Linked DNA regions of Homo sapiens: region 2 is linked to region 1. Evidence: promoter capture Hi-C in human tissues and cell types (Jung and others, 2019). All regions are on one chromosome and are shown on one strand. The core of a region is centred on a gene start or on the middle of the fragment in contact, and the rest is flanking DNA. Distances in the headings are between cores, read along the strand shown.

Region 1 (3,023 bases), core at 280-2,779:
AAGTGCTCCAGTATAGCAAGACAGTAACAATTTTCTGCCAACTTCTGCACTCTGTAAGATGGTGATTCTGACATGTTTTGACTGTGTGAGTAAAAACTGATCTCTCATAAAAGTGGAGCAAGCAGCCAAAATCACCTTGTGCCCCTGGAACTCAGTGTCATTAATGTAAATTGATACATCACAAAATAAATTCTGCTGTCTCAAAAGATTCATTTTCTGCAAGACCACATCTCCTTGCTGTTCAAACTGGAAATGCAGAACATCAGACTCAGCAGCCATGATCACAATCTAAGCAAAATAAAACACAAACATTGATGTAATAAGGATAGGGAATGCTTTCCCATGCTGTAATGGTGAAAACAAACGAAAAACCCCAAACCTGAATTAGGAAGAAGAAGACTCAAAGTCTAATGTAGGTGTTATGAACCTTTATGCCACCATCTCAAAACGAGAACTTTATAATGCACTTCTCTATGATCTCATAGCACATTTTTCATAACTTTGTTACAACATTCATTACAATGAATTGTAGTGAACAGTTTCTAGCTTGTTTCTTTTGCTAAATGTTGTGTGCCTTGTGGTCAAGAACAATCTATCAATTTTGAATATCCAATATAAGCACTGTGACCACCAAAAAGTTGATTTAACATAATATATCCAATTAGCAACTTTAACGTAATCTCCAAACTTCCTACTCCCCACCACTACAACAGGTCCTCCTTCCGGTTCACCTGGACAACTGCAATGTCTTCCAACAGGTCTTCTTTATACCACACTCTTCTGTATGCCAGATTACCCGCCTGAGTGCCACCAGGATTAACAACCCTTATTTTATTTTATTTTTAATTTCCCTTTTCTGCTTTAAATCTTCTATCGTTCTTCTCTACCTCCGGGACAGTCCAGATTTCTTAGGAAAGAATACGAGACCCATCACGATTTGGCTCTAACCCATCTTTATGGCTTTATCACCTTCTATTCTCTTTTTCATACTCGAACCTCGTTCAATACTAAATTTTTCCATCATTACCCAGACAAAAAGACACGAATACACATTTCTTACATTCGCGTTTCCAGTTCCTTTTTTCAGCTAGTGATTAGGCTCCTTTAAGCCCAAATCAAGTAAAACTAATATGACTCCACCTCCCGTTTCAACCAGAGAGAGTCAGCTGCTCTCTGAGCACCGCGAGATGGTGCCTGATGCATCTGTGTTCCTGCACCGAGCTCAGGGGCCCACACAGAGCAGGAGGAGCTCAGGGAACATCTGCTGAACTGAAACCGGATGCCAGGTTCAGCACACAGGTATTCTGGAGGCAACCCTGCGAAGGGCCAAGGCCCTGTCGGCCCAGTGGTTGCAGCACAAGATTAGCCACTCCGGGGCCGAGCCCAGCTGTCCTCCTCCTCCTCCTCCTCTTCCTCAGGCACCCTCCACCTGAGGAATCTACTTTGCACTCACTCACCGACTCAGAAAACTAGAGTCAAGGATTCCGCGGCAGCGTCTGCCCAAGCCGGAAGATGGACTTAGCCTGGAAGAAAACACATCCGGTGCCAACCAGCTTTATTCTTTACTGGGGCCCTCTAGGCGCCCCGGAAGGACATTCTGAGACGGTCTTCCTTCCTCACTTCCCCCCTCTTGGAATGACAGAAAGGCTCCTGAATGCCGGCAAGCCCCATCTCTCTTGTCCCAGTTTCGGCACTCGAGCCGTTTTCCCCCACCATCCCTTTTTTTTTTTAAGACGGAGTTTCGCTCTTGTTGCCCAGGCTGGAGTGCAATGGCGCGATTTCGGCTCACTGCAACCTTCGCCTCCCGGGTTCAAGCGACTCTCGCTCCGCAGCCTCCCAAGTAGCTGAGATTACAGGCGCCCGCCACCACGCCCGGCTCATTTTTGTATTTTTAGTAGAGACGGGGTTTCACCATGTTGGCTAGGCTGGTATCGAACTCCTGACCTCAGGAGATCCGCCCGCCTCGGCCTCCCTAAATGCTGGGATTACCGGGTTGAGCCACCGCGCCCAGCCGAGCCATTTCCTTTTGTGAGTCCTCCTGAACATCCGAATTGGAGACGGGGTTTGAGGTTCGGTTACGGCACGTCTGTCAGAGTAACCAGACCTTTTATGGATTATTCTGGGACGATTCCTCTCCTTATTGGGGCCACCTACAACTTGAAAGGTGGCAGAGCAGAAACTATCATAAAGATCCGTATTCGAGATTGCCTAGATAATGCCCCATCAGGAGATGGCCCCAACCTCTGGATCTAGCTTCACACTTAAATGCGTTCCTCCATCCCAAAACTTTTGGCCCAGCTGTTTCCTCTGACGTGCCCTAGCCTTTTCCCCAGGCTTTTTTTTTTTTTTTTTGAGACGGAGTCTCTCTCTGTCGCCCAGGCTGGAGTGCAGCGGCAGGATCTCGGCTCACTGCAAGCTCCGCCTCCTGGGTTCACGCCATTCTCCTGCCTCAGCCTCCCGAGTAAGCTGGGACTTCAGGTGCCCGCCACTTCGCCTGGCTAATTTTTTTTTTTTTGTATTTTTAGTAGAGACGGGGTTTCACCGTGTTAGCCAGGATGGTCTCGATCTCCTGACCTCGTGATCCGCCCGCCTTGGCCTCCCAAAGTGCTGGGATTACAGGCGTGAGCCACCGAGCCCGGCCTTCCCCAACGTATCTTTAAAGAACCCGTTTATAAATCTCATCATCCTGAAGCCATCCTGAACTGCCCTAAGATAATTGGTTCCCAGTTTGAAACCTGTAATCCCTTTTCCTGCCTTCATTATTGCACTTAACACGCCTGTATTAATTTGTGCCTCATCTAGGCAGAGTTATTTAGGACAGTGGCTTACTGATCTTTGTATTCTCGAAGTCTAGCACTTGGTAGGCATCAAGTATTTGTGCTGAATGAAGATATGACTGAAGAAATTCTTTTTCTTTTTTTTTTGAGACAGAGTCTCACTCTGTGGTCCAGGCTGGAGTGCAGTGGCACGATCTCGGCCTACCGCAACCTCCGCCTAGCAGGTTCAAGCAATTCTCCTGCCTC
Region 2 (3,023 bases), core at 364-2,863, 180 kb after region 1:
TAACTGAATTTAACAGGGAAGGCTCCTCTTTGCAGTTTTTGCAGGGAGAATGTTTCAAGGTCATTAGCCCTCAATGACCAGAACCTGAGGTCTTTTGATGGCTTTTTGGCTTACCACAGTCTGCTCATCAGGGTTGAGTTTCCTCCTTACGGTGCAAATTCCCAGCATATCCTCTGTTCCTCTTTGTAGAAACACTATATGGGTCATTCTCTCCCTGTTCGGGTATTTCTGCCTAGTGAGTGGAGGGAGGCAGGTGTACATGGAGCAGGGACTACTGAAGCAGGGCCAGAGGTGTGTGCCTAACACAGCCCTCATAACAGCCATGGGTCATGCAGAAAGGAGGAAAAAAAGGAAAAGAAAAAAAATATGGGTCTTGAATAGGAGCCTTTGTGTCCTACAATGAAATTAAGAGGCAGCTTAGGCTAAAATTCCAGGTGGATTTTTAGTTTGAGCTGTTGTATTTTCCAGTCTAACAGGCCCAGTATTAACAGTGACACCCACTAGTGAGTCGTAGACTACTTATGTTCTTAAAACCTGCCCCTAAACAGTATAAACCCTTTTTCAAGTCATCTTATCCTGACACAGTAGTGAGAGAACCAGGTTTCATTCCTGATATTAGGAGTGCAAAATAATAAGAATTATAATATGAGCTCCCATTTACTGATGATTTGTGGTGCTAGGCACTATGATAAGCATTTTACTAAACTTTGATCTCTCTTACCCTTACCTCAGCCTTGAGAGAACAGTAATGTAAGTTCCATTTATGGATGAGGATTTGTTTTTTTTAACAGCTATAAAACTTGAGATTCAGTTGAAGGTACCCAGGAAGAAGCAGAGCCAGGCCCATGGAACTGGAATGCCCAGGCTTTTTTTTTACAGTGCCAGCCTGTTTCCACAGTAAATATGGGACAAGGAGCTATGAATCAATGTCATAACCGTATCAAAAACATGAGGACCAGGGATTGTGACATAAGAGCTAACATTTCTTGAGCACTTACCAAGTGCTAGGCACTGTTCTAAGTGCTTTCTATATATTATCAAATCCTCAGAGTAGGCCGTGTTGTAGAAGGGATATAATTATGATCCCCATTTTACTGATGAGGAAACTGAAGCAAAAAGAGGTTAAATATCCCACACAGATCACCCAGCTAGTGGCCAAGCCCTCAAATTGAAGGGCTGACACCAGAGCTCACCCTCCTAAGCAGGCGGCAGGGCTCAGGAGCATCACACCAGGGCCCATCCTGCAGTCATCTAAAATGCTGCAGACACACCTTTCCCACACTCACTTTCCCTTCCCAAGTTAGACTTCTCTCTGTAGTTTCTTCTGAATCATCACTGAAAATCAGCTAGATTCTTCCTCACTGAAGGGAGGAGTGTGGGGCCCTTTCATTATTTTTTTACTTTAGGGACTTAGGTTTTTGAAAGAACGTCATTCCTTTGAGCTCTTTCCTTCCTGCATCTCAGAGAAAAGCTCTGGTGTGAGGCTTTAAAATTTCCAGGGCCCTCTTGTATTTTCGGTTGATTATACATCACTTTTGTTATTCATCACCTGTCACTTTTGCTGTTCTTCACACAACAGCTGTGGAGAAATTCCATGCCAGCCACTTAATTCCTCGGTGACCCCAATCAAGCTTTCTGTATGAAATGGGAGTAATGACTAGACCTGACACTGGTGTTAAAAGGATGAGGGGAAGCTATGGAAGGTCCCTGCAGAGCTGATAGGACCATGTCCGAGTCCCCTCTAGCAGGGTCACTCCTCTGTGTTGAGACAGACATGAGAGTGAAGGAAACTTGCTGGTGAGCCCAACTGCTGTCCAGCAGGATGTAAACTCTGCCTCAGCTCCTTATTAGTTCTGTGACATTTTGCAGATTGCTGAACTTGCCCCATTGAGTTAGCTTGGCCCCTTTATTAAAAATCAATTGACCCTAAATTGGCGGGTTCACTTCTTGATTCTGTCTGCTCCGTCTGTTTCTGTGTCTATCCTTAAGCCAATACCACACTGTCTTGCTTACTGTAGCTTTATAATAAATCTTAAAATCAGTTCATGTGAGTTCTCTGACTTTGTTGTTCTTTGCATTTCTGTATCAGTGTTAGAATCAGCTTATGAATATCTAGAAATAAAAGCCTCTGGCTTTTGAGTGAGGTTCATGGAATCTGTAGATCAATTTGGGGAGAACTGACATCTGAACAACAGTTGAAGCATTCAATCCAGAACATGTTAAAATTTTCCTTTATTAAGATCTTTTTCAGTTTCTCTCAGTAGCAATGTTTTTTAGTGTTCAATTTACAAGACGTGCATGTTTTAATCTATTTTTGTAAAGTGGTATTGTTTTTTAAATTTCATCTTCCAGTTGTGTATTGCTAGTCTCTAGAGATGCAGTTGGTCTTTGTGTTGTGACCTTGTATCCTGTGACCTTGTAAAAACTCATTTGTTAGTCTGGCAGCTTTTTAAATATATTTTTTCAGATTTTCCACATATACAATCATATCATCTCTGAATACAGTTTTTCTTCCTTTCATATTTATCTGCCTCTCTTTTTCTTGTCTCACTGCACTGACTAGCATCTTCAGAATGATGCTGAATGGTTAGAGTGGACATCATTGCCTGGTTCTGGACATTAGCTGTAGGTTTTTCGTAGAGTAGGTTGAGGAAATAAATTCTCCTCTGTTCCTGTTTGCTGAGAGTTTTTGTCATGAATGGGTGTTGAATTTTGTCAAATGCTTTTCCTGTGTCTGTTGAGATAATCATTTGGTATTTCTCCTTAATTTTGTTAATATAGTGAAATAAATTCACTTTTCAATGTAAACCAACCTTGCATTCCTAGGATAAACTCCAGTTGGGGTTTCTATTTTTTATTAAAGATTTTAATTCTTATTAAATATTTATATGTTCATAAGGAATATTTGTCTGGAGTTTTATTTAATGTTTTTGTCTGGTTTTGTCATTAGGGAATGCTGGCCTCGTAAAATGAAGTGAGAAGTGTTCCCTCTTGTTTTCTTGAGGACTTTGTATATGATTGTT

What was found. Contacts are between HindIII fragments. The study calls those that stand out against the background at their distance.
Region 2: a fragment that was not itself captured here is called in contact with the fragment with the promoter of ZBTB6 in region 1 in 1 of the 25 tissues and cell types used here (bladder).

Annotation. Positions count from the first base shown.
Region 1 is chr9:122,911,794-122,914,816 of GRCh38, forward strand. ZBTB6 (zinc finger and BTB domain containing 6) reads right to left here and starts at 1,530. Exons shown (of 2, transcript NM_006626.6): 1 at 1,458-1,530; 2 at 1-288. The coding sequence starts at 279. RefSeq lists enhancers at 1,245-1,354, 1,365-1,594. The HindIII fragment of the contact is 16,169 bases long and covers 1-3,023 here.
Region 2 is chr9:123,091,695-123,094,717 of GRCh38, forward strand. The region is part of intron 21 of RABGAP1 (RAB GTPase activating protein 1); the gene reads left to right. Among named protein-coding and RNA genes, the nearest start is that of MIR600, 18 kb to the right of the region's middle. The HindIII fragment of the contact is 4,152 bases long and covers 1-3,023 here.